7 separate regions of the Homo sapiens genome follow, and all the other regions are linked to region 2. The links are contacts of gene promoters, found by promoter capture Hi-C in human tissues and cell types (Jung and others, 2019). All regions are on one chromosome and are shown on one strand. The core of a region is centred on a gene start or on the middle of the fragment in contact, and the rest is flanking DNA. Distances in the headings are between cores, read along the strand shown.

Region 1 (3,788 bases), core at 102-2,601, 1.7 Mb before region 2:
TCCAGATTGAGGGGGTGCTTAGGTAGAAGTCCATGCACTTGGACATTATAACTACATAGGTATGCATAGGCCAGAGGTGACACAAAGATCAGTTTAGAAGCCCTAGAGTAGTGCAAGTCTTAATTAATGATTCATTTATAAGCATTTTAAATATTTGTAGACAGAAGGTAGAAGATGCATTTAAATTTCATGTAAAATAAATTAACTTGAATGCAAACGATTATTCTAATATATCCAGTTTATAGTATAAATTAAATATTTGTTTTGATTTTGTATTAATGTTTTACAAACAGATAATTATATTTCAAAGAGAAATGTGGATTAAATGTCTGGAAGTCCTGAGATAAAATCCCATCACTACTATGTAGTTGATCACAATTTTCTGGGACAGAAAGGCAGAAAGAGACAGTTAAGACTCTGGGGTCTCTGAGAACTAGGCAAATAGTATTATGAGATAAGAAGAGGAAACCTCTGGCTAAGAATGTGGATAGATAGGGAGCTTCTAGGCCCAGGCAGGGAGGAATTACACACTTAGGAACTATAAGCCCATTGATATGGTTGTAGGGTTTTGCAGTCTGATGGACAAAAAATGTCAGCTTCTTTTCTTTTGATTTTTAAACACTTTATTAAGATTTAATTCATGGCCAGGCACAGTAGTGCATGCGTGTAATCCCAGCACTTTGGGAGGCCGAAGCTGGCAGATAACTTGAGGTCAGGAGTTCGAGACCAGCATGGTCAACATGGCGAAACCCCGTCTTTACTCAAAAACAAAAATTAGCCGGGTGTGGCTGCAGATGCCTGTAATCCCAGCTACTTGGGAGGCTGAGGCAGGAAAATCACGTGAACCCAGGAAGCGGAGGTTGCAATGAGCCCAGATCGTGTCACTGCACTCCAGCCTGAGTGACTGAGACTCAGTCTCAAAAAAAAAAAAAATAAAATAAAAAAATATAAGATTTAATTCACATACTATGAAATTCACCAACTTCACATTTATAGTTTGGTGATTTTTAGCACATTCACAGACTTATACTACCATCACCACTATATAATTTTAGAACATTTTAATCATCCCACAAAGAAACTTCGATATCCATTTAGCATCACTATCCATCTTTCCTACACCCACAATCCTCAACTCTAGGCAAGCTCTACTCTACTTATGTTTCTATAGATTTGCCTATTCTGGACTTTTCATATAAGTAAAATCATTTAATACAGTTTTTTGTATATTTTTTATGCCTGACTTCTTTTATTTTTCATGTTTTCAATGTTCAACCACATTATAGAATGTATCAGCACTTTATTACTTTTCTTGCTGAATAAAATTGCAATATGTGATCATATGGATATAACACATTTTATTGACCATTCATCGATTGAAGGACATTTGGGTTGTTTCTACTTTATGGCTATTATGAATAATGCTCGAGATGAATATTTGTGAATACTTTTTTTTTGTGGACATATGTTTTCATTTCCCCTGGGTATACAATTAGGAGTGGAATTACCAGCTCATATGGTAACTCTATGTTTAACCTTTAGAAGGACTGCCAGACTGACTTCAAATAATATTGGTTGCATCATTTTACACTCCCACCAACAAGGTATGAGGGTTCCAATTTCTCCACATCCTGCCAACACTTGTTATTGTCTGTCATTTTGATTATAGCCATTCTAGTGAGTATGAAGTGGCTTTTCATTGCGGTTTTTACAGGCAATACCAATTGCTGGAAAGGATGTGGAGAAAAAGAAACTCTCTTAAACTGATGGTGGGAATGTAGATTAGTACAAGCACTATGGAGAGCAGGTTGGCAGTTCTTCAAAAAACTAGAAATAGAGCTACCATTTGATCCTGAAATCCCACTGCTGGGTATATACACAAAAGAAAGGAAATCCGTATATCTAAAAGACATCTACACTTCCATGTTTGTTGCAGTACTGCTCACAATAGCCAAAATTTGGAAGCAACCTAAGTGCCTATCAACAGAAAGATGGATAAAGCAGTTGGTGGGAGGGGTGACAGTGGGCACAGCTTCAGCCAACTTAAACGTTCCTGTCTGCCGGCTCTGAAGAGAGAAGCAAATCTCCCAGCAGAGCACTTGAGCTCTCCTAAGGGACAGACTGCCTCCTCAAGTGGGTCTCTGACCCCTGTGCCTCCTAACTGGGAGACGCCTCCCAGCAAGGGTCGACAGACATCTTATACAGGAGAGCTCTGGCTGGCATCTGGTGGGTGCCCCTCTGGGACGAAGCTTCCAGAGGAAGGAACAGGCAGCAATGTTTGCTGTTCTGCAGCCTCTGCTGGTAATACCCAGGCAAACAGGGTTTGGAGTGGACCTCTAGCAAACTCCAGCAGACCTGCAGCAGAGGGGCCTAACTGTTAGAAGGAAAACTAACAAACAGAAAGGAATAGCATCAACATCAACAAAAAGGACGTAAACACAGAAACCCCATCCAAAGCTCACCAACATCAAAGACCAAAGTTTGTAGAGCTTAAGAGAAAATCAATTAGTTTTTCACCACTAAGTTTTATTTTAGCTGTAGGTTTTTTTATACATATCTCTTATTAGAATATAAGAATGTATTTTGAAAGCATTTTTATTGTTAATATATGTGAACGTTTCATTAATAATGTTAGATTTTATTGTAGGCTTTTCCTGCATGTACTAATGTTCCAATTTTAATATGGTAAATTGCAATGACTGAATGATGAATGATGAACTCACCTTACATTCCTGGGATAAACTCCACTAATTGTGATTTGTTATGCTTTTCATATATTACTAAATTTTATTTGTCAATACTTGTTATGAATGTTTGTGTCTATATTCGTGAACAATAAACGTTTATAGCAGTTTTTCCTTGTAATGCTTCTATCTGCTTTTGGTATTAGGATAATGCTGGCCTCATAGGATGATTTCAAAAGCATATCCTCTACTTTCACTTTCTGGAAGAGGATGTATAGATTGGTTTTCTTTCTTTCTTTCTTAAATGCCTGGCAGAATTTGTCAGTAAAACTAAATGGACCTAGAGATTTGTGTTTGTTTTCTTTTGTGTACTTTTTGTTTGGATAAATTTGAAACTACAACTCCACCATAGAAAATATACAAATGAAAAGCATGTATATGAAAAGGTGCTCTGCCTCACTAGTTGTCAGAATAATACAAATCAAAACCAAAATGAAAAGCTGCCAGGAAGTTTGAACTTGGCAGAGCCCACCACAGTTCAGCAAAGCCACTGTAGCCAGACTGCCTCTCTAGATTCCTCCTCTCTGCGCAATGCATCTGTGAAAGAAACGCAGCAGCCCCAGTCAGGGGCTTTTAGATAAAACTCCCATCTCCCTGAGACAGAGCACTTGGGGGAAGGGGAGGCTGTGGGTGCAATGTCAGCAGACTTAAACATTTCTGCCTGCCAGCTCTGAAGAGAATGGCAGATCTCCCAGCACAGCAGTCAAGCTCTGCCAAGGAACAGACTGCCTCCTCAAGTGGGTCCCTGACCCCCGTGCCTCCTGACTGGGAGACACCTCCCACCAGGGGTCGAGAGACACCTCATACAGGAGAGCTCTAGCTGGCATCTGGCAGGTGTCCCTCTGGGACAAAGCTTCCAGAGGAAGGAACAGGCAGCAACATTTGCTTTTCTGCAGCCTCTGCTGGTGATACCCAGGCAAAGGGAGTCTGGAGTGGACCTCCAGCAAACTCCAGCAGAACTGCAGCAGAGGTGCCTAACTGTTAGAAGGAAAACTAACAAACAGAAAGGAATAGCATCAACGTCAACAAAAAGGACATCCCCAC
Region 2 (3,535 bases), core at 233-2,732:
GGCAGGTAGATCACAAGGTCAAGAGATCAAGACCATCCTGGCCAACATCATGAAACCTGGTCTCTACTAAAAATACAAAAATTGTAGTCCCAGCTGCTCGGGAGACTGAGGCAGGAGAATCACTTGAACCCGGGAGGCGGAGGGTGCAGCAGTGAGCCAAGATCGTGCCACTGCACTCCTGCCTGGGGACAGAACAAGACTCCATCTCAAAAAAATATATGTGTGTGTGTGTGTGTGTGTGTGTGTGTGTGTGTGTTTGTGCGCGCGCGCGCGCGCGCACTGACCACAGTCTAAGTTCTAATGGGCCATAAGCAGGGTTTCATGATGTTAAGAGGTAGGGAAGTGGGACCAGATGACCCTTCCCATCGTTGACAAACGCTACCAAGTGAAGACATTCTGTTTCAAGTTTTTAATGATTTTATTTCAATTATAATATCCTATATTTGCCAACAATGTTCAACTAACCTTTTTAAATTAAATGTACTTTCAAACCCATAATAATTCCTGAATATGGTAATGTTTAAGCGAAAACAGATTCAACTTCTAAATTTTATAACTTCTTTATTAAAATTTAAGTGTTCACAAGCCTTTTAATGCAAATCGCTAAAGCCTGTACTATATTGCATGAAATCCCTCCGTGGAAGAGCACGCATTCTATCTCTGTACCTATTTCACAGATGAGGAAACTGTCATTTCCATGTCTGTTTTATTAACCACTGTATTCTCTGAGCCCAGGCCCATTGGGAGGCCTGTAGAGCAGTAAGCACTCAACAAATGTGATTAAATGAACAAAGGAGGCTTGGAGAGGTTGTGTAAACTGCCCAGGTCACCCACCCTTCCTGGGTGGCCCCAGCCCTCTTTGAAAATAAATCCAACAGGAAGGCGACTGGCGGGACCGGTGGTGATCCTGAGGTGAGCCATACCAGGTGTGGCCCAGACTTCCGCATGCAGCCTGCCCTTGGGTCTCCTGGAGTCTCCCCTGGTCGGGAGCCTCAGCCTTCTGGAGACTGACACCACCCTCTTACTCAGAGACGAATCGTTTTGTCGTTGCCTTCACCTCCCTGACCACAAGTGCTCCGGGGCTCTTTCTGAGGGAGGCAGCTGTTCTAGGCGGGAGGCTGGAGTCTCCTGGGCCTGGACGCACCCCGGGGTGTGAGTGATGGGTATGCCTGAAAGGAGGGGAAGTGGCGCGGCTTTAATCATCTGGGCTAGTCCCCGGCGGGCCTGGGGGAACAGGGAAACTGGAGGCGGCCTTAAAGCGTCAGGATGAGACATCGCAAGAGGAGCTGCAGATACTGAGCGTGCGCCCCGGGTTCTCGCCGCCTTCTCTCCGCCGAGCAGCCCTTCGGCCACCCTTTGCCCTTAAAAATCTGCAGACTGCGCCTCCTCTCCGCGGGAGCGAGACCTAGCAGGCCCGGGGCTGGGCGTGCCCTCGCCTGCCACGCTGCGCGCTGCCCTCAGCCGGGCCGCTGGGGCCGTGCAGTGCACCGGGCACGCCGCGCCAGGCTGGGGGCAGGCACCGAGCCTCCGTGGGAGGTCCCGAGGCAGCTTCGCCTGCTCGCCCTGGCTCCAGCCCTCACCTGCCGCAGCCTTAGCTGAGCAGCCGCCGCCACTGGGCGCCCCCCGCTCCCCACTTCGCCAGCGCCCGCTCCTCGGCTCGGCCCGGGGTAGTTTGTAGGGACGCAGCTCTCCACGTGCGCGACTGCGAGGCTGGACGCTACGGGCTCCTGGAAAGGAGGTGGGTGCTCCGGAGCTAGGGCTGGGGAGCTAGAGGTTGGGAGGCTTTCATGGGCACCAGTGGCTCCTGAGCCCCCTTAGCCCCTTTCTTTCTGCAGCCTCTTGTACTTAAATAGCTGTTGATTGAAAATAATTTCGTCTGGATGTGACCACCTTCTCCGGCCCTACGCATCTGGCCGCAAAATAAACTTTCAGTTCAGCCGCAGGTGCTGCCTTAATGGGAGTAAGGGGCATGCTTTATCCACCCAACATCCGCCCCAGGATCCTGCAGAGCTGGCAAAAGACAGGTCGGGTGGCCTTCGAACACCAAGCACCTTCAGATATTCCAGGGGAAGGGTCGGGGACTGTTTCCCCCTCATCTTTCCTCCTTCCTGCTCTCCATCCCTCCATGCTTTCGTTTCTTTGACTGTCTGCGAAGGGCTTTTCAGCACTCTGCCAGTAACTTTGCTTCTTGTTTTGGTCTCCTTAGATGCGTTTTCCCGGCTGAAGTTTGCTGCTATCCTTGACAAGTAACAGCTTGCTGCAGACTAGACGTTCACTCAAAAATGAAGGCACAGAAAGATAGGAAAGGAATGCAGGAAAACCAGCTTGGCTAATTTTAGCCTGCATTTTGTTGTAAGGGGAATCAGCATCTATTGCCTGAATGAGTAGTGTTTTGATCACCCAAGTTAGGAAAAGACCTTATATCAGATTGCCCAGTGAAATAAGCAGTAAGGAATCACCTTTAAAAGTTATTTTCTTTATATACAAAACATTTTAAATAACTAGACTTCACAATTATAGCATTTAAGAAATTGTAAGGATCTTAAAGTCGAACAGTTCAATGCCAAGTTATGAGTTTGACGATGAAGGGGCATCTTTTGTCTCCTCACTGCGCAAGATTTGTGTTGATAGAAATGCTTAGTAAAGGCTACTGAGAATTTAGTTCACGTAGTTTGAGGAGTTTTCTTTCATTTTGGCATTGCAACATTATCAAAGTGGTTTCCCAGTGTGGTGAATAAGAGTTTGAAATAGAAAGGCAGACCTGGATTTCCACCTGGGCTCCAGCATCTAACTTGCTGTGTGACCTCAGGCAACTTGCTTCATCTCTCTGAGGCTGAGTTTCCTCATTTCTAAATGAGATTGCTGAGAGGATGAAAAAGGGATAACAGAAGACAGGAGTTAACACAGAGCACATCATACAGTCAGTAGGTAATAAATGATACCTGAAGCTGATGATGACAGAGGCAAGCAGTTAGGCCTAATGCAGTCACTGAGTGGCACTCCTCATGCAGAGGGTTCTGTGTGGATCTCTGTGCATGGGGAGGAGATGCATTGCATCGTTGCATGCTTCTGACTATAGAAACATAAGGAACGGCTGGGCGTGGTGGCCCACGCCTGTAATGCCAGCACTTTGGGAGGCCAAGGCAGGTGGATCACGAGATCAGGAGTTCAAGACCAGCCTGGCCAGCATGGTGAAACCCTGTCTCTACTAAAAATACAAAAATTAACCGGGCGTGGTGGCACACGCCTGTAATCTCAGCTACTTGGGAGGCTGAGGCAGAGAATTGCTTGAACCCGGGAGGCAGAGGTTGCAGTGAGCTAAGATCATGCCACTGCACTCCAGCCTGGGTGACAGAGCAAGACTCCATCTCAAAAAAAACAAAAACAAAACAAAAACATAAGGAGCTACTTCTGAACTCTTGAATTTCATCCTCACCCATAAAATCTGTCCTAAATCTGTTCAGATTTGCAGTATTCAATTTATCTGTGTAGCGTATTTTGAGATTCTCTTATGCTTACAAATGAGTCGTTTCGA
Region 3 (4,052 bases), core at 258-2,757, 1.7 Mb before region 2:
TCTTATAACACAAAGAAGTTCAGAAGACGTTTTGCCATAATAAAAAAAGAGGAAAAGTATAAGAATAATAGAATTCTCTAAATATTATAGATTTTGTGAATAAAAAAGTGGGAGGAGAGGTGAGATAAAACCATTTTAATTCTGTGGACAAGCATGAGATCAAAGGGAAGAAATGAAAAGTGCTTTGTAGTTATTATTCTTATTTATCTATAGTATCTAGATCCTTGATACTCAGAGTGTGGTCTGTGAACTGGCAACGTGATGTCTCCCAGAGCTTGTTAAAAATGCAGAATTCGGTTCCCACTCATGACTCAGAATTTGCATTTTAACAAGATCCCAGGTAATTCATATGCAAGCTAAAATTGTGAGAATTGCTGATATCTAGATCTTTTTTTTCCGAAAATACCTATGAAGATAGACATATGGAGTGTCTCTGTTTGATGATGTGGTGTAATAAAGTGAGACACCTCTCTTCTGTTTATAAGAGCACAGATTATGAAGGTCTGAAACCACATAGATAGAACTGCTAGCACTAGTCCAGATGGCTAAAATAGAAGTCTTTTTCTACTACTGTTGTTTCTCTTGCAAAATAAGCCAGATCTTGAAAGGATCAGATGTGCCTTAACATCATCATGCTGAGGTGATTTATTTATTATTTCACAAGGAGCAGGGTTAAGGTCTTGTTAACAGGAGGAACTTGTTTTCTTATGTTAGATAGAACTGTGTTGTTTCAGGTAAATATTAATTTTCCTTTTGATAAGGTGTGGTTATTTCTTAGGTAAATAGTGAGAAAATTATTTGCAGCATCCTACAGTCAAGGCCTGAAGTGGATTCAAACATTCTATTTTCTTCTCTGGTCTTAAAACTAGAACCAGTTTTTGCCCCTTGGGATTCTGTAAAGATGAGCTGCATCTTGGGTTAATGGAGGTAACTAGATGCTGAAAATGACCAAGATATTCTCCAACTTTTGTGGGAAGTGAAGAGTTTTCTCAGGGATTGTGTTGAAAAACAAGAGCCAGAATTTGGAAACTAAGGGCTGTGAAGTATGATGAAACACTTAAAGAAGGAGAGGAGTCACAGAAAAGAACATTCAGAAGGGTCTTCCTCTAATTGGTGGTTCTCAATTGTCACCGAACATTGGAATCACCTGGGGGTCTTTTTCAGATTTCTAATTCTTGGATTGCATGCAGACAAATTATATTACAATCTCTGGTGAGACCTAGGTATCAGTAATTTTTTAAAAAAGACCTCCAAGACATTCCATTTTGCAGCTAAGGTCAAAACAATTAAAGATCTGATTTTGTAAAGTTTCCTGTCCTTATGTGGTAAATGTGTTTCATGTGGGGAAGGCTGGTGAGCAGGAAGTGTTCCAGTATCTTGATCATTTGAGGAAAGCTCAAAGGGTGAATGAAACATGGAGCTTCCTTTGGGGAATCACTAGACAAATCTATGTTCAGGCACGAGACAGTGTGACTAAATTCCTTGGTAATGTCTTTCACTCTTTGTGCTTAACCCCTATACTCTAGCAAGAAACACTGTGGGCTGAGTGTAGGGTAGTAGTTGGCCTCCAAGATGGCCTCCACTGACAATTGTGCCCTGATACTCATGTCCTTGTGTGCTTCTCACCACACTGAATCACTTGGGGCTGACCTGTGTGACCAATAGAATATGGTAGAAGTGATGGTATGAGACATCCAAAGCTAGGTCATAGAAGGTATATCAGCTTTTGCTTTAGTATTTGGGATTACTAGCTCTTCCAGAAGCTAGTCATGTTGTGAAAACACTCAAGAAGTCCCTTGGAGAGGAGCCAATTTGCCATTTGTGTGAGCCACCTTAGAAATGGATCATCCAGCACCACTGAGTCTTCAGATGGCTAAGCCCCAGCTGGCATCTGACTGCAACCTCATGAGAGATTCTGAGCCACAACTGCTCAGTTTAGCTGCTCCTGAACTCTTGGCCTATAGAGATCATAGGAGATAATTAATGACTATTGCCTTTTCATACTATTAAATTTTGGAATGATTCCTTACACAGCAATAAATAATGCTGCAGGGCTAATTCAAACCCTGGTTACCCAGTAAAGCAGCCTGTTTGTGAGTATATTTGTAGATAACTTCTAGAGTGTGGCAACAGAGTGGAATATTTTAGCAACAATTGCATTTAATTCTATCTTAAATTACATCAGCTACCTTGTAAGCCAAATATTAAATGTTATGACAAAACTACACTGTTATTAAAATCTTAGCTTTAAATTAGGTTTTAACAAGTAACTGGACAGCATTTGATATACGATTCAGCACTATCCAATAGAACTCGCTGAATTATAAAACCGTTCTCCCAGTTATGGTAGCTGCTAGCTATAGTTGGCAATTGAGCACTGGAAATCTGGCTAGTGCAATTGCTAAACTGAAATTTTAATTTTATTTAATTTGAAATTATGGCTACCATATTGATAGGATAATTCTATACATTTTTGGGGAAGGTTATAGACATGACAAAAATATTCTGCTCTAGGTTGTAAAGTTATGAACTGAGAAGTGGAAAACTCAGTAAGGGGAACAGTTTATCTCTGGAATAATGAATTAAAAGTCTTCCTATTTTACCACCAAATATGTGTCATTTGGAGTGATAGATGACAAACAACAAAGAAACAGATCACATAGTATTGTGTATATCCAAGATGTAACTGAATTCAGGCTCTGTAACAAAAACTTTTGTACTAGAATTTGAGAGGAACTTTAAGATATTGTCAAAGCACAATTATCTCTGTGGTAGGTACTTGATGAGGTGTTTTCAAAAACATTTTTTTTCCTGCCAGCTGCCATCTTATTTCTTTTGCTCATCTTATAAAAAGTGACTAGATACTACTATAAGATATGCTCAGGAAGAATTCTACATAATCTACCACCAACATAATCTGCTTATAATTTCTAATATTTTAGTGTTGTCACTTACTTATGATGGTGTGATAATGATAATGAAAACAATGATAACTATTAAAATCAATTATTATGTTTGAATCAAGTGAATTTATTAGGTTTACTTAATCACTAATATTTATATTTTTTGTATTTAATCAGCACAAACGCTCAAAATTAGGGTATAGAAAAAAGGTAATAGAAATTCCTGGCACCTTTTTTTGTTCTCTACCTTGTTCAAGAGATGTAGAACATCTAAGAAAAACTGGAGATAAACTAAATATTGCAACCTAAATTTTACTTAAAATGGATGTGAAGTAGTGCTAGTTTGAGAGATGAAGCCAGCTGGACTTCCTGGGTCGAGTGGGGACTTGGAGAACTTTTCTGTCTAGCTAAAGGATTGTAAACGCACCAATCAGTGTTCTGTGTCTAGCTAAAGGATTGTAAATGCACCAATCGGCACTCTGTAAAAATGCACCAATCAGCGCTCTGTGTCTAGCTAAAGGTTTGTAAACTCACCAATCAGCAATCTGTAAAAATGGGCCAATCAGCACTCTTTAAAATGGACCAATCAGCACTCTGTAAAATGGACCAATCAGCAGGATGTGGGCGGGGCCAAATAAGGGAATAAAAGCTGGCCACCCGAGCCATCAGCAGCAAACAGCTCAGGTCCCCTTCCATGCTGTGGAAGCTTTGTTCTTTCGCTCTTCACAATAAATCTTGCTGCTGCTCACTCTTTGGGTCCGCACTAACTTTATGAGGTGTAACATTCACTGCAAAAGTCTGAGGCTTCACTCCTGATGTCAGTGAGACCATGAACCCACTGGGAGGAACAAACTACTCTGGATGCGCCACCTTTAAGAGCTGTAGCATTCACTGCAAATATCTGTGGCTTCACTCCTGAAATCCAAGCAAGACCACAAACCCACCAGAAGGAAGCAACTCTGGACACATCTGAATATCTGAAGGAACAAACTCTGGACACACCATCTTTAAGAACTGTAATGCTCACCGTGAGGGTCTGCAGCTTCATTCTTGAAGTCAGTGAGACCAATAACCCACTGGTAGGAACCAATTCTGGACACATTTTGGCGACCATGAAGGGACTATCAACTATCGCCAAGCAGTGAGCAC
Region 4 (3,826 bases), core at 354-2,853, 1.1 Mb before region 2:
CTCCTTCACTTCTGGTCTCAGGCTGGGGTTCCTCTGGGCCATTACACAGCAGCTGTGCTCCATTCCAAAAACAAGTGTCTTATCTATAATATTATTCCTCCCTTGCTGTTCACAGGTGGGAATGTGAGGCATGGTGAGTTCAGTGGGCCACATCCATGACCATCTCGTATCAGGTTATTTTCACTATAAAGGAAGACATATGTGGAAAGATAAGTCATGTAGAGGAACTTAGTGTTTAGGTTTTCCTGAAAAGATGGCCATCCTAATTTTAATGCATTTGCTGTATACCATGTGACATAATTCAGCTTACAGAGAAAAACCTACATTTTTTTTTCATTGACCAGAGACATGGGTTTCCATCAAAACCAATTTATGGTTCCAAGATATGGAATCAACCTAAGTTCCATCACTGGATAAATGGATAAAGAAAATGTAGTACATACATACAATAGAATACTATTCAGGCATATAAAAGAATCAGATCCTGTCATTTGCAACAATGTGGATGGAACTGGAGGGTATTAAGTGAAATAAGCCAGACACAGAAAGACAAATATTGCATGTTTTCACTCATACATGCAAGCTAAAAGAATAATCTCATGGAGGTAGATAATGGAATGATGGATACCAAGGCTGGGAAGGGTAATAGGAAGTGGGGATTGAATAAAGATGGTTTGGTAAATGGGTACAAAAACAGAATTAGATAGAAGAAATAATATCTAGTATTCAGTAGCACAATAGGGTGACTATAGTTAACTTATTGTATCTTTCAAAATAACTAGAAGTGTGGAATTGAAATGTTCTTAACACAAATAATATATACTCAAGGTAATGGGTATACCAATTACTCTGATTTGATCATTACACACTGTATGCTTTTATTAATATTTCACATGATCCCATAAAAAGATACTATTATATATCAATAATAATTAAAAATAAAAATAATAAAATATACAAGATAATAAAAAAACCTCCAGGGTTCTGGTGACAGCAAGCTTTACGTATTTCAGAAACATGGTTCCAGGAGTCTCCCACTCTCTTTTTATAGTATGATAAATGACCTCTTATCTTGTTGAGGGAAAAACAGCAAATCTTGAGGATTCTCTTCTCCCATGTTTTTATCCACCTACAATAAAGTGACCATATGCCTTACCCAAGATATCTTGGGAAACATGTCTCCAACAGACAGGGATTCAGATTATAGTGAGTATTAATCTTCAAAGATTTGATATACAAGAAATAGCAAATTTGTTTATTTTTTTAAATCAATTAAATAGTTTTTGAGTTTTCCTTTTGTCCAGTTAGTGGAAAATACGTCTTAGCCATTATAGAATAGGGCCATTCCTCTAGCCTAATTTTGCCCAATATTCCCAAAGTCTTATTTGCTATCTGAAATATGAAAGCTAGGACATGTCTCTATCAGTCCATTATAATCAATAATGAAGTCCACCTTCTTATAGTTTCCAAATAAAATAAAAGGCACCTGCTGCTGTGGTTTAAATGATGGTGCGTGCTCCAAAATTTGTATTTTTTGTATTGAAACTTAATCCACATTGCAACCACTTTGAGAGGTGTTGCCTTTGGCTAGTGATTAAGCCATGAGGGCTCCATCCTCATGAATGGGATTAGTACCCTTCTAAAGGTGCCTGAGGTATAGAAGGAAATACTCTCTTGCTCTTCTACCCCTTCAGCCATGTGAGGACACAGCATTCTTCTCCAGAGGATGCAGCAATAAAGCACCATCTGGAAGCCGAGAACAAGCCCTTAAGACACCAACACAACTGTTGCTTGATCTTGCACTTCCCGGACTCTAGAATTATGAGCAATAAATTCCTATTGTTTGTAAATTACCCAGTCTGTGATATTTTGTTATACTAGCACAGACTAAGATACCTGCTAATTGTGAATTTCATAAAAATAATGAATAATTTTTAGTATAAATAATGCTTTAAATATAAATGAACATTTAGTCACAAATAATGCATGGGACATACTTATGCTAAAAAGTAATTCAACATTTACCTGAAATTCAAATTTAATTGGTTGTCATGTATTTTTCTTTGCAAAATATTGCAACACTGTTCCTTGCTCAAGCCTGAAAATCTCTTGATAACTGGCATCTTCAAACTCTGAGTGCTGTTCTGCCCCAAACTCAGGGTTTTTCAAATTCTTGGAGAAACAGCCCATGCTTGGATTCTGCCCTCTTGAGTACAAGAGAAAGCAAAATTTTCTTTGGTCTTAGCTTCTTTACTAGTCACCTTATATCCAGAACACCTTCTGGGAGTGTCTCCTTCTCTCCTTCCCTGATTTCAAGGCTTCTGGAAAACAGAGCTTTGAAAGCCAGGTAGTCTAAAAATAATGTTCACTTTTAAACCTGTCATATAGAGCTTCCCTGAGGCAAATAAATGTTTGAGGATTAGAAGAGATGAAAGGAAAATAAAAAGGGATCAAACCACAAATTAAGCTTTATCTCAATAAAGCTTTCTGACAAATGGTAATTTATAAAGAAATATCCCATCCAATAAAGATGGTCATCTTTCCTTTTCACTTTTCCTTCTAGATTAATAATGTGCCATATTGAAATGTGTTGAAAATTACAATACTCTTGGATAAACTACTGTGGAATCATTGTGCTTTCCATATTTACAGGGTGAGTCTAAGTACTTGCAGGTTGGTTGAACTGGATGGGGGGATTGGTCTTGCTTTGTACAAAGTCAGTAAGTCTTTCCATCTGTGTAGATGAGTCTTCTTTCAGTTGACTTGGAAGGGGGTAAACCAAAGTCTATTTTATTTACATAATAAAACCAGAAGCATACAACAAAACAATCAGCGTCTATCTGTCTTAATTGTGAAGAACAATTGGATTGGGAATTGGAAAATATGAATTGGACAAGTTGGTGTACCTGTGATTGTGTGATCCAGTTATTTAAACCTAAATAAATTCACCAAGCTTATAGAAATATAATAGGGTAGTTTCATATAATGTGGTCAGGCTAATTAATAAGCACTCCAATTACCACTTTTACCAATCTGCAATTTTGAGACTTCAGAAGTCCCCCATATCCCTATCTTAAATAGTGTGATTCATTCATGGATACTCTGATTGCATTTCAATTCTTGAAGGAGAAAGCAGGAAGAAAATAGATGGTCTCACTAGTTGTCGTAGTTCCTGCCAAAATACTTTTGCTAAGAAATCTTTCTTCTTCACAAAAGGCCTGATACGCAGTTGTTTCTAAAGCAGGAACCTGCTCTACTTTCTTCAAATGAATGGGAAAAGGTACAAGATCACTTGGAAAGAGTGAGGGTTAGGGTGGGTTTCCTAGCACCTTGAAACTGCTAGTTAGAAAGCTCAGAATAAGCAAATGCTCGCTTTTTCCCCACCTCCCCATCTCCTACCTCTCTTTTTTTATTTTTTATTTTTGTAAAATAACTATTTATTCTTCATTCCATCAGAGAAACAGGATATCCTAGAACCAGTGGAAATACATACACGGCTCATATAGGTATTTTAAGACTCTGGAATCTAAGGAAACTATGTGTTTTTTAATTAGAACTGATTCAAATGCTTTGACAAGTCTTGAAAGAATAACATATGAGGCATTCCAGGTTTACCCTGCAGTCAAGCTCAGCATTTCCAGCCTTTGAAGTTGCTGATTTACACACATCTGCGATGGGCTCAGCTGGACCCGCCACTTACAGACAACTTTAGAGTTACAGGCCCCAGGTCCACTGCATTTAAAGAGTCTGAGAAAGCAGTACTGTTCTTCTCTGCCTGAGCATTAGAATCACTCGGGAAGCTTTCCAAAAATTCCAGTGCTTATGC
Region 5 (3,919 bases), core at 601-3,100, 1.2 Mb before region 2:
GGAAGAAATACTGGAGCAGAAGAAAAATTAGAAAAACAGTTTCGTGCCAGCTTCTGGAAAGCCTTGAATGCCATACTAAGAATTTTGGATTTTATTCTTCAGGTAGTGAAGAGCTTCAGCTTTTTACTAAAATAATGGCTGACCAATGCTACTGGTACAAAAACAGATACATAGACCAATGGAACAGAATAGAGAACTAAGAAATAAGACTGCACATCTACAACCATCTGATCTTCAACAAACCTAACAAAAGCAAGCAATGGGAAAAGGATTTCCTATTTAATAAACGGTGCTGGAAGAACTGGCTGGCCATATGCAAGAAATTGAAACTGGACCTCTTCCTTACACCTTATACAAAAATTATCTCAAGTTAGATTCAAGACTTAAATGTAAAACACTAACTGTAAAAAGCCTAGAAGAAAATGTAGGTAATACTATTCAGGACATAGGCACAAGCAAAGATTTCATGATGAAATCACCAAAAGCAATTGCAACAAAAGCAAAAATTGACAAATGAGATCTAACTAAATGAAAGCGCTTCTGCACAGCAAAAGAAACTATCGTCAGAGCAAATAGACAACCTACAGAGTGGGAGAAAGTTTTTGCAATCTATCCATCTGACAAAGGTCTAATATCCAGAATCTACAATGAACTTACACAAATTTACAAGAAAAAAAAACCATTAAAATGTGGGGAAAGGACATGAAAAGACTCTTCTCAAAAGAAGACATTCATGAGGCCAATAAACATACGAAAAAAAGCTCAATTTCACTGATGGTGAGAGAAATGCAAATCAAAACCACAATGAGATACCGTTTCATGCCAGTCAGAATGGCAATTATTAAAAGTCAAGAAACCAGAAATGCTGGTGAGGTTGTAGAGAAATAGTAAATTAGAAAATAGTAAATTAGAATAGTAAATATAAAATGTAAATTAGTTCAACCATTGTGGAAGTCAGTGTGGCAATTCATCAAAGTTCTAGAACCAGAAATACCATTTGACCCAGCAAGTCCATTACTGGGAATATATCCAAAGGAATATAAATCATTCCATTATAAAGATACATGCATGTGTATGTTCATCGCAGCACTATTCACAATAACAAAGACATGGAATCAACCCAAATGCCCATCGAGGATAGACTGGATAAAGAAAATATAGTACATATACACCATAGAATACTATGCATCCATAAAAAGGAAGAGATCATGTCTTTGCAGGGACATGGATGGAACTAGAAGCCATTATCCTCAGCAAACTAATGCAAGAACAGAAAACCAAACACCACATGTTCTCCCTTGTAAGTGGGAGCTGAACAATGAGAACACATGGACACGGGGAGGGGAACAACACACACTGGGGCCTGTTGTGGGGGGTGAGGGCATGGGGAGGGAAAGCATTAGGAAAAATAGCTAATGCACGCTGGTCTTAATACCTAGGTGATGGGTTGGTAGGTGCAGGAAACCACCATGGCACACTTTTACCTATGTAACAAACCTGCACATCCTGCACATGTACTCCAGAACTTAAAATAAAAATAAAATTAAATAATTTTTAAAAAGGCTTCATGAATTAAAAAAAGAAAGAAAGAATGGCTGGAACAGACAAATACCAGGGATAAAATTCCTATCAAAACATGAACGATGGAGCTAAACTGTATGCAGGAAACCAACCAATTATGCAGTGAGAGAAAGGGAAGTATAAATTTATGAGTGAGCAATAAAATATATTTATGGAAATCGATTTTCTCAAAATAACTCTAGTGAGTTTAAACCTTTCCTTTCCGGTATTTTTATTAAAACATAAAGAAGAAAATACCCACAAGTCTGAGGTTTATGCTGTAAGCATAATCTCCATTTGTTGCAGTTGTTTACAAGAGTGTGCCCGTTTCTAATGTTACGATGTAACTAAAGTTATGATTTCACTCCAGTATAGCCCTTCTTACCTGAACAAAGAGATCATAAAGAAAGTAAAGACACCTACTCTAACCACAAACAGAAGATAAAGTATTATGACAGACTTTAATTTTATGTAAAAATTTTCAAGCAGAATAAATGAAAATAAATTAATATGTATAACATATAAAATACACCCCACATACATTTGCAAAACATAATATTTGAGCTGTGACAATTAAACAGGAAACAAGATGCTCAAGAAAATATGAGGTTTAAGGCCCCCGAAGTATTATTGCTGGACATTTTACTTTTCATTTCTTCAGATTACAGGTTAGGTTTCTAGAGTAGTCGCTTACCCTGGACTTGTCCTTATTCAATCTAGAAAGACTGACTTTTCCTAATATGATGGTCTGCTATAACATGAAGGCATTGGCCAATCTGTGACGTCAAAGGTAACTTCTTGACATTGAGACATCCCTTGAATTACACACTACTTGGTGGACAGTCATCTACTCCCACAGCCCCTCTCTGGTACATGCCATCTCTTAGTAGAGATGAGTGGCTCCTTGCCACATATCAATAGCTGTGTCATGGGACGTCGGCAGCATTCATCACCTACCCCATGATCTTGACCAATTCTGGCCAGAGACAAGTGACAACTTGCCTTATTTTGAAAGGATGCATGTTGCTGCTCTGGCCTTGAGCATACCAGAAAATCTCAGACCTCAAATGCTCCCAGCCTCAATAAGATATCATGAGGTCACGGATTCATCACATATGTTCTTTCCTTTTTGCTATTTTTCCATTATTTTTAATATATACTCAATGAAGTCATCCTAAAAGGAAAAACTAGTATTACTAGTTCAATGGTAAAGAATAAAACGTTGTTCCTCCTGATGTGTGAGCATCCTAATGCTTTACAAGCCCTTATAGAAATTCAAAGTAAGAGCAATGACAACATCTAGAACTTTAAAAGAAACTGTATTTATTAGAAAAAAAGAAAGGAGATACAAACTGAGCAGGGGGTAGGAAGAGGAGCAAGAAGAACTAAGGGGAGGAGCAATGAGCTCTTCTGAAAGGGCAGACTCCAGAAAAGGAACAAAACTGCTGCAGACTTGAAAGCACCACTGTCTATATTATTGTCTGAGTCTTGGAAATCTTATGTTGAGTACAATAAGCTTCATTTATATAAAATTCTAAAATAAATCTATGGTGAAAAACATCAGAAGATTGCTCTTAGGGAACTTCCTGGGATGATGGTAATTTTCTCTACCTTGATAGAGGTTTGGGTTACACAGGTCTATGTATTTAAAATATGCTTACTATTCCATTCCACTTCAAAAGACATATTGAAATGTAGTTGATAATATGCTTGCTAAAGTGTTTAGGGGAAAGCATCCTGACATCTGCAATTTACTTTAAAATGTACAAAAAACTAAGATGAAGTATAGAAAAATGGAGGGATCGATAAATGGATAGGTTTGTGAAAAAGCAATATAGAAAAATGTTCATGTTAGAGTCTAGGTAGTTGATATGCAAGTGTTTACTGTAAAATTTATTCAACTTGGCTTATGTCTGAAAATAGTTGTATAAAATGTTGGTGAAAAATGTATTGTCGGCCGGGCGCGGTGGCTCACGCCTGTAATCCCAGCACTTTGGGAGGCCGAGGCGGGCGGATCACGAGGTCAGGAGATCGAGACCATCCCGGCTAAAACGGTGAAACCCCGTCTCTACTAAAAATACAAAAAAATAGCCGGGCGTAGTGGCGGGCGCCTGTAGTCCCAGCTACTTGGGAGGCTGAGGCAGGAGAATGGCGTGAACCCGGGAGGCGGAGCTTGCAGTGAGCCGAGATCCCGCCACTGCACTCCAGCCTGGGCGACAGAGCGAGACTCCGTCTCAAAAAAAAAAAAAAAAAAAAAAATGTATTGTCATTCCTTTTTTTAAAAAAAAATAAAGATCCATTTGTATTAATAATCATTCTCTTTTTATGATGCCAATGCTTTTGGTAAAGTTAGGGGCAT
Region 6 (3,812 bases), core at 246-2,745, 1.5 Mb before region 2:
GTGTGAAGTGTGTGTGTGTGTGTGTGTGTGTGTGTGTGTGTCAGAGAGAGAGAAAAAAAGTGAGAGAGATAGAGACTAATTTTGTAACTTTAGAGCCAGTGTTCGGTAACATTTTCTCACTTGGAACTTCCTTAATATTTTTTGTAGGCACATAAACTTTAGACCTTTTTTTGTAGAGGAGATTATCTAGTGCAAATAAGACTGCTTGAGTTCCAATACATGCTCCCTTACTTATTAGGTTTATTACTTGTGCAAGATACTTAACCTTTCTAGGATGCAAGTCAAAGAATAACTCAGAAAATTATAATTAATTTCTGAAATTTATATATAATTTTGTACTTACAAATATACTAATAAGAGAAAAGTAATTAGATGATTGTCAATGGAAAAAAAGGAGGGATCATAAAAGAGGAGCAAATGGAAAGGAAAAATTACAAACAGTCTGGTAACAGTAAATCTTGCTTCTGTAATTTTGTTTTTGTCAATATAGTTGATCTTCTGGCAGCAGCAAAGAGGCCACTTGGTCATGGGAAGTATGTCTTTGAGTAGGCTGGCCAGAGTCATTGATAGCCATAATTTCAGTTGTTGATGTATTCTCAATGGTCCTACCATTCCCCAATCTCAGGAAAAAAAAAAAAAAGCTTGAGAGCTAAGCTGTAGCATACACACGATGGACCATTTTTTGTGTATTTTTCTGTTGTTAGTACTTCTACATTAATTAAACAAAGGCTTGTACCATGTTCTGCATCATTATTCCTTGCTCAGTTTAGTCAGGTATCCAATAAAGTTAATACAGATCATGGGTCTTTTTGTGAGGCTTACATGAGATATTGCATGCAAAGCCCTGACAATGAAACTTGGCTCAAAATAAAAAGTTAGTAAATATTATTGCATCATCATTATCATCATCATCACCGTTACTGAAGGATCCTGATTTAGAGCGCACACAAGAATTATTTCAATATGCCAAATCCTAGAAAACATTCTGCTATAGTTCCCATTTCTTGTCTAAAAGAACCTGCGGTCTATCTGTCTGCAGCATCCCTCCCATGAAAGCCTACACAAAAGGACATTAGAAAGAGAATGATAAGTTTACCAAGCCTCCTTAACAAGAGCATTCTTTGCTCAGGAAGAAGATATCAAATAATCGGAATCTCCTGGAAGTTTAGGATAAATTATTCACGGCTCTAGCTCAAATTTCCATTCTCTCCTTTTTCTACTCTGTAATGGCATGAAATGTTTTCAAAAATATGTTGAAGAGTCAAATCTCTAAAGGAAGCAAACTGTGCAAATATCACCCCAAAAAGGCAGAGTCTCCAAACCAAGTCATTCAAGAATGAAATTCCATGTCATGAGCAAGGTGCCCATTTTCTTATCTTTTGCCCCAAAGTGGGATGAACCTCACTTGCAAACACTATTGTATTATAACTTCTCCACAGAACACAGAATCTTCCTGTGTCTAAAAGCCTTGACTACATGATAGGAAAAAATAGTTGGCCCTAGAGTATTGTTTTTCTTCCTGTGTTACCACTTACTTTATTAGTGGCACTGGAAAATAACTGACAAAATAGGTTTGAAAGACTAATATGTTATAAATACATTTTCCCTTTCAAAATTGTTGTTTGTGTTTTGCTTTGGTTTTGATTTCTGGCTTTGTCCAAGATCCTTTCCTTTACTTGGAAAAGTCATTGATCTTGTAGCTAATGGAATGCTATTTAATTTTTCAAACTTACTTTCTCTCTTTCCTTTTCTTTCTTTGTCTTTCCTTGCCTCATCCTTCCTTTCCTGTTTTCCCTCCTTTCCTCTCTCTTTCTTTTTCTTTTTTTAATAACTTGATTCTGGGAGTAAATATTTAAAAGGGATTCCTGCAGGATGCCACTATTTACAATGAGCAGTTATGAAAGATACCTTTCCTTCATTGGGGACAATTCAAGTTTTAATTTATCTTGCTGATTATATTGGATACTATTTCTCATTTTATCTGGAGAAAAGCCACACAAAGAGGCTTTTGTCTGATCTTCAATGCCACTTATCTAACAATTTTCTGACAAAGCAGGGAGGAAAGAACCCACTGAAATCTGGTTCACTTCTTTCAATATTGGGTCATAGGATAGATAGCATTGATTCAGTTCTAGAGGCACATAGAATAGAGTAAGAGATACTAGTAAGGCTGTTTGGCTAACATGTATTGAGCACTGACTATCTTCCAGGCAAAAAGTAAGTTTTATGTACATTAACTTGTTTAAAACTAATACCAGTCACATTTTAAATATCATAAATTGTATACCTAGAAAGCTTAAATATCCTTCCAGAAAGCAATTCTACAAATCTGTTCTCTTAAGTCGTTTAATATATTACCTCTTGTATATTGCTTGTGTTTTTTAAAGCACCAATGAGGCCATAACTTGAGGTAACATTTAAAGAATGATTTACTTGGAGAGTAGCATGATCTGAATGTAATTTTATTAACTATAGAGTCTAGGTATTTTGTCATCTCAAGCCCTTATTAGAAGCTTCTGTGACATTGAGTAAAGTTGTAGAGATAAATTGAGATTTTTAGACACTCATTGTAGGATTTGATGATGCTGATAATTTCTTCTTCTTTGTCTTCAATTAGTATTTTGAAAATGCTTATTCACTAACTCATTTCAACAATTAACTCACCAGCTAAGAAAACTCTAGTCCTTCATTAGCATTTAATTATTTCTGGAACATTTGAGCTTATTCTGGATCTTTCAGTTACCATTTATTGACTTCCTCCTGGCATATTATCGTCTTAAAGGATTATACAGTGGAGAAGGCACCATTCTAGCCCAGGACTTCTGTTTTGTTGTGTCAATCTTTCTAATCTTGGGCAAATCATAGGGGCTGAGTTTACACAGCTGTTGATTAGACATAGAGTCACCTACTCTGCTGAGTTCACAGGATGATTGTGAGAATTAAATGTTATAAACTATTTGCTTTGGGAAAAAGTGCAAAGTGCTTCAGAGTACAATGATTTTACTCCATTGGAAAGTCTCCCCACAGGTCTTTAAAAGCTTTCATTTTTTCAGGCCATATGTTGTATGGAGAGTACCAACAGAAATGACAACATTCACTTCCACTTAAGAGTCTATTTACTCCATTCAAAGTTGCCCAAAGGAGCTCTACTTCCATCAGAAATTAATGAGCCAGATATATGAAGAGGTTTGTTGCTTATTTTGTGAAAATTAATAGGGCTATGGTTAGTGTAGGGCTATGGTTAGTGTAGGGCTATGGTTAGTGTAGGGCTATGGTTTGTGTAGGGCTATGGTAGCTATTAGAACAACAGCTGCAGTGGAAAAAAATCTTTGTATCGCAACAGTCAATTATGTTTTGATTTAAAAGCAAAGCAGGCATAAGTCTGGGTATTACAAGTTCAGGAGTAAGTTGACATTACTTACAGACATACCTTCATTGTTCTCTCTGTATGCTGATTGCAAGCTCTAGACTTTCATTAATCCAGATGAGCTTGGCAAATGACTAATGTCTGACCTGAATTTTTGCCCTTTGATGATTGAAGGCAGACACATTGATGTGTGTTGTTGCATAAGCCACGTAGAGATATGGCCCTATAAATCCCAAGCAATAAAATATATGACAAAAGAGACAGATCATAGGGTAAAGATGCAATATATTTTTCATGATTTGTAAAACATCATGCTGCCCTGATTAATGTTTTATTATTTTAGATGTAACTGGCATTATACTAAAATATATGTCAAATGGCCTCTTGTCTTTATATAATATGCCAAATATAATGAGGCCAGGACCCAGTAATTTAAAAGGAGGTT
Region 7 (3,493 bases), core at 120-2,619, 1.9 Mb before region 2:
TGTCATTTGAAGAAATATTGACAAACATAAATGAAAGTAATCTTGAGGTGATATGATTTATTGGTCTTTATTTTAATAAACCTTAATTGATGGCCTTGTAAATTGGTACAGTAGTCAGTGAAACAACATAGCAATTCATATCAAGAGACATAAAGTTATTATACCCTTTAATCTAGCAATTTTGGGAAGAACTCTCCTGTTATTCCTTTTAGCCAGAACCAGAAAGATGCAGAAAAACCTCAGAGACCATCTGTGACTTTGATACTTTTTCTTGGTACTCACTGATTTTCATGAGTACATTTATTTGTAAAGATAATTTATGTTTTCTGAAATGAGGTGCAATTTCTAAAAGACTTAAGACTAAAGCCTCCTGAATCTGGAAATGTTTTATATATTGTATAATTAAATGTGTTTTATGAAATATTTTTCTACTTATTTATTTACTTCTTTATTTATTGTCATAGCCAGTGATGACTAAGAACATACAAAAGAGCAAGTTAAAAAATCACTTTAAGTGATACCTAACATTTAATAGAAATCTTGTCTCTTTATTCTGATAAAAATAAAATCTAAGTAAAAAACTTTAAGAGGTGATGAGATACTATTTAATTTCTTCATTCCATTTTAAAAAAACATACAAATGAAATATACATTCTTAATACCGTAACTGTCTTTAGATAAAATTTTTGGCTGGTCATAAGGAACTATAGCTAGGTAAGAAGTAATGTATGAAGCTGTTCATAATAATTATCTTAAACCAAAGGCATATACTAGTTTTTTAAGTATTTAGGAATAACAGTACTTTTTCCCCTGGCAAGTTAGAATTGGAAGTATACTGTAGGATACCCTTGTTCCCTCCAGGGTGAAATCCTGAGCAATGTGAGAGATGAAAATGCGCTTAGAAGTGCTTGTTACAATCCTCAGTTGACCTATTTTTGGGTCACTCGTGTTTATGTTACTGGTGACAAAACTTTTTTTTCCAATGTACAATGACAAATTTTTGTAGTAAATGTTTCTTTTTGTGACTTTGACTTTTACTAATCCAGAGCATTGTGTTTCCTTTTAAATACAATTGAGATGTTTTGGAATCCACTTGGTCTGAAATGAAATAAAATACAGAATTCTTTGAGAAGACGCATCATTTGTTACTAAATTATGTTGAATATGGATTTAATTTATAAAATGGGTGAAAGTAAATTTTCCATGTTATTAAAAGTAAAGCTTCAGTGTTTTGAATTGCAAGTTACCACAGGGATGTGTGATTTGAGCAACTTAATTTGAATGGATATTTGATTTTGTCCACATTGTTCTACAGTGGGAAAGGCAGCTGTGATGGAAAATGTTAAAATGATGCCTCTGTCATTTTTCCATGTTGGCCAGGAGGATCCTTAAGCTTTCATTCTCTTTACTTATTCTTGGTGCCCATGCAAATATTATTTATTTGTAACATTTAAAGGGCAAGGATCTGTTCTTTACTCCTAGTCTCATTCAGCATTTTTTTGCATACCTACCCTTTTTTTAAATATTTTCATTCTCTGTTTGTGGTTGTGATTGTGATTATTTGAATAAGTTATTTCCTTCTGCTACTAGACTATAAGCTCTGTGAGAATAAAGGTTGTACATGTTTTTATTCATCCATGTGTCTTGAGTGGTAACCACAGTCTCTGGAACAAAGAAGGTGCTTGGTAAATATTTGTTGAGGTACTAAGGGTTTTATTTATCTTTGTCTTTACATGCACATAACATAGCATTTGATATGTACTTAGTGTTCAGTAAAGGTTTGCTAAAACAAATTGGAAAAAATATTTTTCACATACATATATTCCCTTTACGGTACTTACAGATTTTATAAATGTACAAACATTATACATGATCTTAATCATTTCATATTACTTATTCTTTTTAAACTGATAACTGATGTAATCATACCTATAGTTTGTTGAGTCCTTCACTATGTACCCAGCACCATGCTAAGCCTAATAACACTTGCCCTAATCTAACTTTAGAACCATTAAGTTAGGCTTTTATATACCCATTTTATAGAAAAAAGGTGACTGAGACTAAGAAAGGTTAAATAATCTAAAGTTATAAAGTTAATAAATGGGTAAGTCGGTATTTAACTTTGCAAAACCCCAGTTTGCATGACTCTAAATCCTATCCTTTCAGCCTCCTTACAATCCAAGTGATGCAAGTTGTATGTCAGTTACTAGAAAGTGTTAGGTAATAAAAATAGGTAGAAATGAAATTTCTGTAAGTCAAAAAAAATAGTAAATGTGAGTCAACAATTGCAGTGATTTTAATAATGTGATTATGAAAGTAAGCTCAAGAATGCTTTTTTTGGAGGACTTAAGTGTAACTTTTGTTCTGTTTATGCTTCTTGTAGGTTTGAGTGGCCGCTTCTTTGTCACCACTCTCCCAGCATTTTTTCAGTAAGTTTAAATAATCTTCTAATCTTGCAAATATTAGAAATCAATAGATGTGTACCAGGAATTCTAAGTTGTCTTCCATGACTGCCACTCATTCAGCTTAACATGTGAGGGAAACAAGGCTGGTGTGCTCTGAGTGAGAGCTGTGACAAGAGAAGCTTTCCTGGAGTGCTGCAGAGACAGAGGTCCTAATGTCAGGCGTAGGTGGGCAGGAGAAGTCAGAGATTTCTCTGGTGATATCAGAGGTGGGGTAATTCTTAATATCTAAGTAGGAATGCATTAAGCCAACAAGGTAGAGAAAGTCTTTCCAGTTAAAGGAGATAGCATAAAAAAGCCCAAGAGAGAATGAGCTACCTTTTGAGAACTTTGAACTAGTTCTTTATGGCTGGACCACAGGTATAGCTGGATCATGCTGAGTGATGAGGCCAGAGAGACTCAGGTACAGGCAGGGGAAAGATAAAGAAAGTAGTGAATTCCAGAGATACTTAGGAGGTAGGATCAGTGGGACTTGGTGACTGATTAGCTGTGGGAAGGAAGAGTCTATGATGACTACCAACAGGCCATGTGTAACTAACTAGTAAAAGCTATTGCCTGCCTTCATGATTAGGAGCCATTAAAATAAGAGGAGGTTTGGAAGATAGAGACAAAAATGCAAAAGATAAGTGTGACTTGCCCTTCCCAGTTCCAAATGGAGAAGTCTAGGTACAGTTTGATGTCAGGATCCAGAGTTCAGAAGAAAGATCTAGACTGGAGATACATATTGAGAATTCCTCAGCATTGAGGTAAAAGTTGAAATATATCTAGAGAGAACATGTATGGTGGGGAAGGGAAGCAGGTCAAGGATGGAACCTGGGATTGGCCAACATTAGGACATCTGCAAGGAAGACAGTGAGTGAAGGAAATGGAGAAGTAATGCTCAGAGCAGTAGGAAGAAGTCCAGAGAGCTCCTGTCATAAAAGCCAAGCACAAGGAAGAAAGAAGTGGTATTCAGCAGTGAATGAACAATGCCAGTAACAGGTGAAGGAAACAGAAATGGATACGGCACTTAGGGGTCATTGGAGACCCCC

Evidence for each region. The method cuts DNA at HindIII sites, captures the fragments that hold promoters and counts their contacts. A contact is called where the count stands out against the background at its distance.
Region 1: a contact is called between a fragment that was not itself captured here and the fragment with the promoter of FERMT1 in region 2, in 1 of the 25 tissues and cell types used here (dorsolateral prefrontal cortex).
Region 3: a fragment that was not itself captured here is called in contact with the fragment with the promoter of FERMT1 in region 2 in 1 of the 25 tissues and cell types used here (mesenchymal stem cells).
Region 4: a contact is called between a fragment that was not itself captured here and the fragment with the promoter of FERMT1 in region 2, in 2 of the 25 tissues and cell types used here (dorsolateral prefrontal cortex and mesenchymal stem cells).
Region 5: a contact is called between a fragment that was not itself captured here and the fragment with the promoter of FERMT1 in region 2, in 1 of the 25 tissues and cell types used here (mesenchymal stem cells).
Region 6: a contact is called between a fragment that was not itself captured here and the fragment with the promoter of FERMT1 in region 2, in 1 of the 25 tissues and cell types used here (dorsolateral prefrontal cortex).
Region 7: a fragment that was not itself captured here is called in contact with the fragment with the promoter of FERMT1 in region 2 in 1 of the 25 tissues and cell types used here (mesenchymal stem cells).

Annotation. Positions count from the first base shown.
Region 1 is chr20:7,812,341-7,816,128 of GRCh38, reverse strand. No RefSeq gene overlaps it. Among named protein-coding and RNA genes, the nearest start is that of HAO1, 130 kb to the left of the region's middle. The HindIII fragment of the contact is 3,145 bases long and covers 1-2,923 here.
Region 2 is chr20:6,120,977-6,124,511 of GRCh38, reverse strand. It overlaps FERMT1 (FERM domain containing kindlin 1), which reads left to right and starts at 1,482. Exons shown (of 15, transcript NM_017671.5): 1 at 1,482-1,738. RefSeq lists a silencer at 1,477-1,596. The HindIII fragment of the contact is 15,378 bases long and covers 1-3,535 here.
Region 3 is chr20:7,834,052-7,838,103 of GRCh38, reverse strand. No RefSeq gene overlaps it. Among named protein-coding and RNA genes, the nearest start is that of HAO1, 100 kb to the left of the region's middle. The HindIII fragment of the contact is 5,656 bases long and covers 1-4,052 here.
Region 4 is chr20:7,265,610-7,269,435 of GRCh38, reverse strand. No RefSeq gene overlaps it. Among named protein-coding and RNA genes, the nearest start is that of LINC01428, 13 kb to the right of the region's middle. The HindIII fragment of the contact is 3,548 bases long and covers 1-3,377 here.
Region 5 is chr20:7,293,599-7,297,517 of GRCh38, reverse strand. No RefSeq gene overlaps it. Among named protein-coding and RNA genes, the nearest start is that of LINC01751, 12 kb to the left of the region's middle. The HindIII fragment of the contact is 7,428 bases long and covers 1-3,919 here.
Region 6 is chr20:7,657,448-7,661,259 of GRCh38, reverse strand. No RefSeq gene overlaps it. Among named protein-coding and RNA genes, the nearest start is that of HAO1, 280 kb to the left of the region's middle. The HindIII fragment of the contact is 4,745 bases long and covers 1-3,812 here.
Region 7 is chr20:8,000,432-8,003,924 of GRCh38, reverse strand. It overlaps TMX4 (thioredoxin related transmembrane protein 4), which reads left to right. Exons shown (of 8, transcript NM_021156.4): 3 at 2,384-2,429. Among named protein-coding and RNA genes, the nearest start is that of TMX4, 18 kb to the left of the region's middle. The HindIII fragment of the contact is 3,749 bases long and covers 1-3,243 here.